Linked DNA regions of Homo sapiens: region 2 is linked to region 1. Evidence: promoter capture Hi-C in 16 types of primary human blood cells and fetal thymus (Javierre and others, 2016). All regions are on one chromosome and are shown on one strand. The core of a region is centred on a gene start or on the middle of the fragment in contact, and the rest is flanking DNA. Distances in the headings are between cores, read along the strand shown. Region 1 holds the start of MTA1 (metastasis associated 1). Region 2 overlaps BRF1 (BRF1 general transcription factor IIIB subunit).

Region 1 (5,092 bases), core at 655-3,154:
CTGCCACAGGGCACAAAAGGACGGCTGAGAGACGAGGTCCTCACCCACACCATGGGGAAACCGAGGCATGGGAAGGTTGGAGGGGGGGCAGCCAGGCTGGCGCCAAGATCACAGGCAGGCAGGCCTGAAGGCCGAGCAATGCAGCCACTAGGAAGGCATGAGTTGGGGTCGGGGTGTCCCCAGCCCTAGAGCCCAAAGCTGCCACCACTCCCCACCCCCAACATGGGTGGGGGCAGGGAGAGCTCTTCTTGGGACCAATCCCAAAACCATGCGCAGTGGGCCCGGCTGGAGCCCAGGCAGCAGGCATCCTCTCTGCCAGGGTGAGAAACTGGGCCCTCATGTCAGGCTGGAAGGGGGGTCTCCAGGTGGGGAGAAAGAACAGGAAGGAACAGGCCCCTCCCTCGAGGGACCCCGCACCCAGGCTGCTCCCTGAGCGTGGGGTGGGCTCAGCGCACCTGGGTCCACACAGGGACCTGGCAAAGCTGTATGAGGCTGTGGGAGGGGCTGCCGCTGGATGGGGTACAGGCCCACCGCCCCTCTGAGAGGACAGGGGAGGCCCAGAGCTGCTGATGCGGACTGACCGCCCATCTCACAGACGGGATGTAGGGGGCTCCCACCGTCCCCAAGGTCACAGGACTGGCCGGCCAGACCACACGGCGTCCAAGGCAGCAGAAGCCACGCTCGAGAGACACAGAGTGTTCTGGGCACTCGGGGTCAGGGGCATGGGGATCAAGCCAGAGCGGGAGTGACCCCAGCTCCCTCCAGCAGCGCAGGCTGCAGGTGGGAAAGGTAATGAGCACCTGCCCGAGAGGGTCACAGGCAGGGAGGGGTCTCAGAGTCCTGGGGAGGGAGGCGCTGATGGAATGATGGAATGCACACGACCCCCCACCTTCCTGTGAAAGACCCCACGGAGTCCCAGGCACACGAAGGAGGGCAAGGCTCAAAGCTGCAGGCCCGGGGGGCCCGAGCAACAGGAGGCTGGGCCCACGGAGGAAGCCCCTGCCCAGGAGGCCCTCCGGCCTCTCCCCAACCCTTGCAAAGCGCCTCCCGAATGGGCTGAGGTGAGCGAGAGGCAGGGAAAAGTTTGGGGGGACTTAGAGGCGTGCTCGGGATGCTCGCTCCCTGCTGAAGACCCCCTGAGGGATCCCTGCTGGGGGAAGCCCCGGGGCCAGGCTGCAGGAGGGCTCTAGGGAGGAACGTGGCCCCTCACCGGGGCTCCCCATCCCCAGAGGGGATGCACCGGAGTCCCAGCACAGGGCCGCGGGCCGGGGGAGACCCCACAGCCCCAAAACTCCTGCTCCCAGACCGGCAGCCGGCGCCTCCCAAGGCCACGTGCTCCCGCTGGGGGCTCCCGGCCCCGGACCCCCGGATGTCCCGCAGGCCCCGCGCCCCCCCGCCACCCCCGCGGCCGCCCCCTCGGCCCCAACAGGTGGGCCGCCCCCCACCCCCGGGCCGCCGAGCCCCGCCCGCCCCCGATGGGGCCGACCCGCGGGGCCATTTTGGGTTGGGGTGAGCACGGCGGGGGGCGGTTCGGGAAGGAGCCGGGGGCCGCGAGGGCGGGCGGGGGGCGCGGGGCCTGCGGGGCAGAGGGGCGGGGGAGGCGGCAGCGGCGGCGGGTGGGGGCTGCGGGCGGGTCGGGGCCGGGCATAAAGGCGGTGCGGCCTTACCTCCGACCCTGTACATGTTGGCGGCCATGTCCGGGCCGGCGGCGGCGGAGGGGCCCGGGGCGGGCGCGGCGCTCGGCGCGGGCGGCCGGGAAAATGGAGGCGCGATGGCGGGGGCGGGGGGCGCCGCAGGCGTTTAAAGGGGCCGCGCTGCTGCCGCCGCCGCCGCCGCCGCCGCCGCCGAGGCCGCCGAGGCCGCGCAGGGACGGGAGGGCCGCGGCGCGGGCGGGAGAGGAAGAGGAGGAGCGGCCGCGGGCGGCGGGGAGGGGCCTCGGGCGCCGCCGCCCACCGCACGGGCCGTTACCGACCCCGCGCCGCCCGCGGCCCGCGCGCCCCTTCCCGGACAGTTCCTCTCGGCGCCCCCGAGTCCTCCCCGCGCGCCGCTTCCCGGGTGGGCCCTTCCACCAGAACCCCCTGGTAGATCCTCCCCTGGTGCCCTGGGGGTAGAGGGGAGATCCTCCACAAGGGCCATTTCCCTGGTGATCCCTCCCTGTGCCCCACAGGTGAGTCCTGCCGTAGCTCTCCAGGGGTTCCTCCTGATGCTGGGGTCCTCCGGCATTCCTCCCTGAGCCCCCCAAGGGCCCTGAAGCTCAGCGGCCCAGCCCTGGCCTCGGGGTCCCCACCCCACACCTCCCTTCCAGGCCTAACCTTTGCCCCCGACACCAGGCAGGGCGTGTCCTTGGCCTTCGCCGCCCAGCCCGCGTGGCATCTCTGGACAGGTGGTCGTGCGCGCCTTGGTGTGGGCAGGCTCCGTAGCCGGCAAAGCCTCCCTGAACCGTGACCTGGTGAGAAGGCCGCAGAGGAGGTGCCTGTGCCCAGAGGCCACCTCCAAAGACCCCACCTGAGGCTGGAACCCAGCGCCTGCTGACCCCGCCAGCCCCAACAGGGCTGGAGTCCAGGAGCGGCCGTGCTCTTTCCGCAGTGAGGCAGCTGCCTTCTCTTCCCACCACCTGTCAGGATGCCTTCCCGTGTGTGCTTGTGCACAGGTCTAAGGAGAGGAGAGTCCAGTGAGTGACCCAGACGCCCCAGCCAGGAAGAGCATGAGGTGCGAAGGGGGCTTCCCAGATGGAGAGAAACAGATGGTCCCAGAGTGGCTTGGAGACAGGTGCAACATCAGTGTTGGGGGAGGTGAGCAAAAGGAGCTGTCTCGGGGTTCCAGGCTGCTGATGTGAGCAGCACCGTGGGTCTCTGTCCTGCCTGCTCAGATGCTGGAGGGAGCTGACATCTACTTGGGACATCCCTCTCTGTAGGACATGGAGCGGAGCGTTCAGGGCTATCAGGAGGGAGCCCCGTGGCCACGGTGCAAGATCTAGGCAGGCGGGACAGACATGGTCAGGATGCTGGGGACACAGCATGGGGAATCCAGCACACAGGACACCATCCAGGTGGGTAGGAAACAGCATGTGCTGGGAGGAAAGCCAGGTGGGGGTCCCAAGGAGAGCGGTGGCCACAATGTCATGGCTGCAGAGCAGACCAGTAAGGAAAGCCCCACCAGGGTTAGCACAGGGCCAGGAACCCGAGCTGCAGGGCGGTGCTGTCTCTGGGGAGAGAGGGCTATGGGTCCCAGGACACATCCTGCGGGCTGGGCTGCAGGGAACAGGAGCTGGCTTGCTGGTGATTGGGAGGGAAGAGCAGCCAGCCAGCGGCCAGGTGCAGGAGAGGGGCAATGACAGACAGGCAGCGTCTCTCCAGAAGGAAGGTGGGGCTGCTGGCCTCCCCTGTCCTACAGCCCCAGCCTACCTCTGTCTCCTCAGCAGGAAAGCAAAGCTGCAGCCTGAGATCTCCTTCCACCAACTCCTGGCATGGCCAGAAAGTTAGCCAGAAACACCAGAAAGTGCCAGGCAGCTAGGAAGCATGGGGAGAGCCCCCTGAAGCTGCGTGTGTAGTGCCTGCTTCCGCTGCCATCCCAGAAATGGACGAGCTTCACCCTGAGAACCCAGCCACACCACTGGGACACATCCTGACAGTGACATGCACACTCTTCCCTGGCCCCAGCCTGGAGAGGAGCCTCCTGAAGACACCAGCCTTTGCTCCTTCTCCCAGTGGGAGTGGAGAGAACTGACTGCTGGAGTGGAGACAGTCAAGGCTGTCCTTCTGAGGGAGCACAGCACAGGGTCTGGTGTCCCAGGGAGGCAATCTGAAATTCAAGCCAGGCCTCCCCAGCGGAGAGGACACACCCCTCACCATGCAGAGTGACGTTTAGTAAACTCTCAAAAGAGAGCACAGAGCCCCACTCCTCCAGCCGACCCATACTCTGCCTCCCCACTCCAGACCAGTGAACAAGGTGGATTGCCCTTAAGCCAGCTCAGAGGCAAAGTCCAAAGACCTCAGGTGAGTCAAACAATAAAAACAAAGAATTAAGAAGAATCCAGCTGGGTGCGGTGGCTCACGCCTGTAATCCCAGCACTTTGGGAGGCTGAGGCGGGAGGATCACGAGCAGGAGGTCGAGACCATCCTGGCTAACACGGTGAAACCCCGTCTCTACTAAAAATAGAAAAAATTAGCTGGGCGTGGTGGCGGGCGCCTGTAGTCCCAGCTACTCCGGAGGCTGAGGCAGAAGAATGGCGTGAACCCAGGAAGCGGAGCTTGCAGTGAGCCGAGATCATGCCACTGCACTCCAGCCTGGGCGACAGAGCGAGACTCCGTCTCCAAAAAAAAAAAAAAAAAAAAAATCCATCCACTCCATCCACTTAGTAGCAGAGCGAATAGACATTCAGGAAAGAGCTTTCACGTCAGAAAGCACTACAGAAGTAGTGGCATATCCCCGGAGGCTGAGGTGGGAGCATTGCTGAGAGGTGGCACGTGACCACATCCATGTCATTCAACAACAGAAAAACAAGTCATCGAGGGTGTGAGGGGCCGGTGAGAAACCCAGTATGGAAGAAAACACAACTGGGCTGAGCGTGGTGGCTCACGCCTGTAATCCCAGCACTTTGGGAGGCCAAGGCAGGAGGATCACCTGAGGTCAGGAGTTCGAGACCAGCCTGGTCAACATAGTGAAACCTCATCTCTACTAAAAATACAAAAAAATTAACTGGGTGTGGTAGCGCGTGCCTGTAGTCCCAGCTACTCCGGAGGCTGAGGCAGGAGAATTGCATGAACCCAGGAGCCGAGACCACACCACTGCACTCCAGCCTGGGGGCGGCACAGTGAGACTCCGTCTCAAAGAAACAAAAATAAAAAATAAATAAATAAATAAATAAATAAATAAGAAAACGCAACCAAAGAAACAGAAGAGGACTCCACAGGACTTCTTTCAGAGCTTCATAGCAGCATGAATTCAACAATCAGGAATTCAAATGCTTGACGACAAAACAGCAGGATGGGAGGAAGAGTTAAGAGCCAAGCAAACCGGAAGCACCAAAATCGCACCGTGGCTGGATCAAGTCATAAACAGCAAAGGGCAGAATATCAAGTTACTTGGAGAT
Region 2 (5,092 bases), core at 1,271-3,770, 160 kb after region 1:
TGCAAGAGAGGTCAGGGGCCTCCAGCCCAGGGCGTGGATGAGTGGGCTGGCGTCCTAACCATCTGATTGCTTGCGAGGTTCTTGCGTGGTGGGGCTTTGCTGCTCTGGTCCCGGGGATCTTCCTTTGGACCCCTGCTCTGGACTCCTGATCCAGCTCCAGGAGGTGTCCTTAGTGACTTCTCGAAGCTACAGTGGGCCCATGGGAGATGTGCACTTCAGCTGTCTGGCAGAGTGTATTAACCAGTGACTTGTGTTTGATAACTTATGTATCCATGTGAGTTTTGAATCACTTAGGACACATTCTTGGTCCTGTTTGTTCATCTGAGCGAAGACAGGTCCTGTGCGGGGTCCCCACACCTGTCTCTCGAGCGCAGCCCCCAGTGGCGCCTGCAGGCTCACCACTCACCAAGGGGGCCCCAGGTCTAGTTTTCTGTCTCTCGGGAGGACTGCCTGCCTGACGCCTGATAGGTGCTCAGCAAGTGCCCTTGGGATGGAGCATGAGTGCCACTGTCTCTTCTGTGCTGTGTGTGGGCAGCAGATCCACCATATGGTGGGCACCTGACTGGGCAGGCGGGTGTGTGGGGGTGCACGCTTTCTCCAGGATCAGATGGAAGCCCCCACCGTTTCTGGTTCCCCCGACCCGGCTCCAGGTTCCTTGCAGTCCCTTGTCCTGGTACTGGGTTCACAGAAGTCTCACTTGTGCCTGGGGCTGGGAGGTTCTGGTGAGGCCTGAGCGTGCCGCGCCTCGCTTCCATACCACCTTTCCTTCCTGATCAAAGGTGGAGCTTATATTTGGAGGGGCGACTCCAGCTCCCTGCAGGTGCAGTCCTGCGGTCCTGCCCATTTGAAGGTGGGCGAGTAACCTGAGCTTGCAGCCACTCGACAGGATCCTTGACTCCTGCTGCAGACATGCTCCTGGACCTCAGCGACCTGCTCCAGGTAGACAGCCTCCGTCCTGCATCTTTCCCCACCTGGGGTTGTGACCTGGGGGTTGTGACCAGGGTTGTGACCGGGGTGTACCCCAGGTGCCTCCACGCATCTCAGTGGCCGGTCTGTGCTGCCTGCCCAGTCAGGAAGTTTTGGTCTGTAGGATGAGGGGCCTTCATGACATGGGGGTCACAGTCCGAGACTTGTGGGAGTGTGGGTCTCCATGGCAGGAGGGCACCTGCCAATGCTGGGCACGGTTGGGTGTTAGCTAGGCCTGGGTGAACAGTGAACTTTTGTCCTACACAAAGGAGATTATTTTCAATTAAAAAATTTTTTTGTGAGTACCTAGTTTGGTATAGGAGATTATTTCTTTTGACCTTGCATTTTATTTATTTATTTATTTATGAGATGGAGTCTCGCTCTGTCACCCAGGCTGGAGTGCAGTGGCGTGATCTCAGCTTACTGCAACCTCTGCCTCCTGGGCTCAAGCAATCCTCCCACCTCAGCCTCCCAAGTAGCTGGGACCACAGGTGCCCACCACCATGCTCGGCTATTTTGTATTTTTAGTAGAGACGGGGTCTTGCTATGTTGCCCAGGCTGCTCTTGAACTCCTGAGCTCAAGCAACCCTCCCACCAAGGCCTCCCTAAGTACTGGGGTCACAGGCATGAACAACCATACCTGGCCTCTTGCATGCATTTTAAATTGTAGAAAAATCTTATATTACAGTCTGTTTGGAGACACTCACTTTCTGGGTACCACAGAAAGCACTTTCAGTTACATCTCTCTTTCCACATGACTGAACAAAGTGACAGAGTGGAAAGACCAACCCCAGGGACCCCTGTGCAGACAGGATACAGGGTGGGGGCACCGAGGCTCTGCAGGGACGGTGCTGGGGGCTGCACCACAGGTCCTTGGTGACCATGCTGCTGAGGACTCAGAAATATTGAAAACAGTTGTGACCACAGTGCAGAATTCATGTAGATTTCACTCCTCAAAGGGAGCTCTGTCCAGATCCAGGTGCCCACAGGGGTTCTGGGCACCCACAGGCTGTGCTGCCACCTCTGGTCCTCAAGGGCTTTCCGCCTTTGGCAGCAGCCCACAGTTAGGCTTCTGCCCGTGTCAGGTGGCATCTGGGGTCCTTGTCCTCCCAGCTGTCTTTATAAATGGCAACTCAGAAGCTACTGCTGAAACATTTTGTGGTCAAGCTAAAAATAGTCTGCTGGAATTGTGATAATCCAGCAAGTCCACATTTCAGATGCTCTCTGCTCAGTGCAGGGCAAAACCACATGACCCTGGTTCCAACCCCACGACTTCCCAGGGAAGATGAGTATGAGGGCCAGGGCCAGGGCAGCTGCTCCGGAAGTGGTCAGGCTCCTGGGGACTCAGATGGTCCCATGGCGAGCTCATGGAGTCTCCCTCTTGATCCCTGCCTTAGGGCAGACCCAGGTTGTTCACTGGCCTGGGCACACAGCTCATCAGACACCCACGAGGGCAGTCTGCAGGCAGAATCCACCTGCTGCCCAGGAAGAGAGATGGGGGGGGCAGCTGGCTGTGCCCCACCCTGACCTGCCCTCAAGGAGCAGCCACAGTTAGACTGTTAGCAAGAGAATTTCCAATAAATGGTCCTCATACATGGTAGCAACTCTGTAAAGAACTGCATGTATTTAGGCCGGGCGCGGTGGCTCACACCTGTAATCCCCGCACTTTGGGAGGCTGAGGCAGGCAGATCACCTGAGGTCAGGAGTTCAAGACCAGCCTGGCCAACATGGTGAAACCCCGTCTCTACTAAAAATACAAAAATTAGCTGAGCGTTGTGGCGGATGCCTATAATCCCAGCTACTTAGGAGGGTGAGACAGGAGAATCGCTTGAACCCTTGAGGTGGAGGTTGCAGTGAGTCACGATTGCGCCATTGCACTCCAGCCTGGGCAACAAGAGTGAAACTCTGTCTCAAGAAAACAAACAAAAAACTGCGGCCAGGTGCGGTGGCTCACTCCTGTAATCCCAGCACTTTGGGAGGCCGAGGCGGGCAGATCAGGAGGTCTGGAGATCGAGACCATCCTGTCTAACGCGGTGAAACTCCATCTCTACTAAAAACACAAAAAAATTAGCTGGGCGTGGTGGTGGGCGCCTGTAGTCCTGACTACTCAGGAGGCTGAGGCAGGAGAATGACGTGAACCCGGGAGGCAGAGCTTGCAGTGAGCAGAGATTGCACCACTGCACTCCAGCCTGGGCGACAGAGCAAGACTCCGTCTCAAAAACAAACAAACTAAAACAAAAAAACTGCACGCGTTTTGCACACATGGCTTTTTAAACGTGAGTTTCCATGTAAAGGCCCTTTGGAGATTCCTCACTTGCAGTGTTCAGGTCTCATTGATCCCTGTGTCTCTGGGACACAAGGTTGGGGGGTGTGGAGTTTGAGGTGGGCAGGCAGAGGCCAGCAGCAGATCATGGTTCTGCTGTGGCTTAAAGAGAGATGGTGGGATCAGGACGATCAAGATGCAGGGGCCTGGCAGGAACCCAGCACAGGGGCTGGGGCACTCATACATGACATGCGTGAGTCACACCTAGACACACTGTATGCGTGTGTACACACATGCATGTCTGCACACTGCATGCGGATGCACACACACACTACATGTGCTGACACGCCCCCCAGTTTGGTGAGCAGACCCCAGGGATCCCTGGAACCCCCAGAAACTGTGAGGAGGGGAAATTCCTTCAGAAGGCACACTCTGTGAGCCACCAGCCCTTGTGATGGAGCCCTCGGATATAATGGAGAAGATGGAAGCTGCGCCCCACTGGGGTGGATGGTGACCAGGAGGAGCTGCTGTGGGGGCCCAGCCCTCCCAGCGGGCAGGGTCCCTGATCAGAGGCATCCCCCACAAGCGCTGCCTCTGGCTCTTGCCTCTGTCTCTTGCCTCTAGCGCAGACAGGACCCTTTGTGTGCGGTCCCTTAGGTCTCCCAGTACCCTGGAGTCAGCAAGCACCTGGAAGTGCCACTGGCGGGCCAGGACAAGGGGACTTGTCTAAGGGCCCACGAGCCGGGCTTGGTCAGGCGAGGGAATTCTTTGGGGGAGGCTAGTGGCAGAGGGTCAGACTGGCCAAGCCTGTGAGGCCCGGGGGCCCCAGGGGCAAGCCTGGGATGAAGACAGCCAAGTGTGGGCAGGGCTCTTGCAGGCTCCAGTAGGGACCAGGCTATTCCCGCTGTGCACCTCATCCACACCTGCCAGCAGACATTGCTCTGAAGTGTCCTCCCCCAGCCAGCAGGGCTCCTTAGGGGTACTCGGCCCACGGCAGGGCTGTGCACAGGGTCTGCACACAGGCTAGAGTCCTTGTTTTGCTGAGGACAAGCAGCGGTGCTCCCATCACTGCCAGCCCTCGGCGTTGCCCTTCTCGGTCTGGGCCTCACCTCCACTGCCCTATGGCAGATAGCCGAGGCAGGGGTGACAGGATCTGTGTGGATTTGGACCTAAGGTAGGAACAGTGTGGGGGGCAGGGGAGTCACTGAGGAACACAGATCTCAGTCCCAGCAAGGGGGCTGAGGCCAAGACCCCTGGGCCCATCGGAATCTGGGCTGGAGGTGTGGCTGGTGGGAGCACATGTGGACAGAACTGGTTTTGTGTTCATGGGTGTGCAGTTGTGAATGAAATGCTGCGTGCACCGTGTGATGACGCCCTGGGAGGAACCTTGCAGTCAGGTTTTCTTCTAAGCAGATGCCATCATTGGCGAGACGGCAGCACGGCCTAAAGCAGCGGCTTAGAGGAAGAAGGCAGGGCCCTGGGAGCCCCAGCAGCCAAGGGAGGCCAGCCAGGCTTGCGGGTGTGGGGTGGCTGCTCCACGGGCCATCGGAGTCTTTAAAGACTGCACAAGAGATGCATTTTAAGAGAAAAAAAGCAAACATTTCCTTAAATACCAATGCTGTTTCTGGTTGTGATCTCTCCATCTCAGGTGAATGTGTACGTGCTTGGAAAGACGTTTCTTCTCTTGGCAAGAGAGCTCTGCATCAATGCGCCGGCCATAGGTAGGCATCTGGGTGAGATGCTGGGGTGTCCGGCAGGCTGCTGTAGGGACCAGCGTGCCAAATGTCCTTTGAACAGTGGAGGGAAATCCTGTCCAAGCATGGGACCCCTCAAGGTAAGAAATGTTTCTTAAAGCTGCTAGGA

What was found. The method cuts DNA at HindIII sites, captures the fragments that hold promoters and counts their contacts. A CHiCAGO score of 5 or more calls a contact.
Region 2: a contact is called between a fragment that was not itself captured here and the fragment with the promoter of MTA1 in region 1, in 1 of 17 cell types (monocytes). The highest score is 5.1, in monocytes.

What each region holds. Positions count from the first base shown.
Region 1 is chr14:105,416,639-105,421,730 of GRCh38, reverse strand. It overlaps MTA1 (metastasis associated 1), which reads right to left and starts at 1,904. Exons shown (of 21, transcript NM_004689.4): 1 at 1,668-1,904. The coding sequence starts at 1,695. It overlaps MTA1-DT (MTA1 divergent transcript), which reads left to right and starts at 1,992. Exons shown (of 2, transcript NR_125385.1): 1 at 1,992-2,709; 2 at 3,422-4,150. RefSeq lists enhancers at 1-359, 3,038-3,707 and silencers at 1,811-2,070, 2,161-2,210, 2,241-2,340. The HindIII fragment of the contact is 23,301 bases long and covers 1-5,092 here.
Region 2 is chr14:105,252,365-105,257,456 of GRCh38, reverse strand. BRF1 (BRF1 general transcription factor IIIB subunit) reads left to right here. Exons shown (of 18, transcript NM_001519.4): 4 at 908-939; 5 at 4,878-4,950. Among named protein-coding and RNA genes, the nearest start is that of BTBD6, 6.4 kb to the right of the region's middle. The HindIII fragment of the contact is 7,870 bases long and covers 1-5,092 here.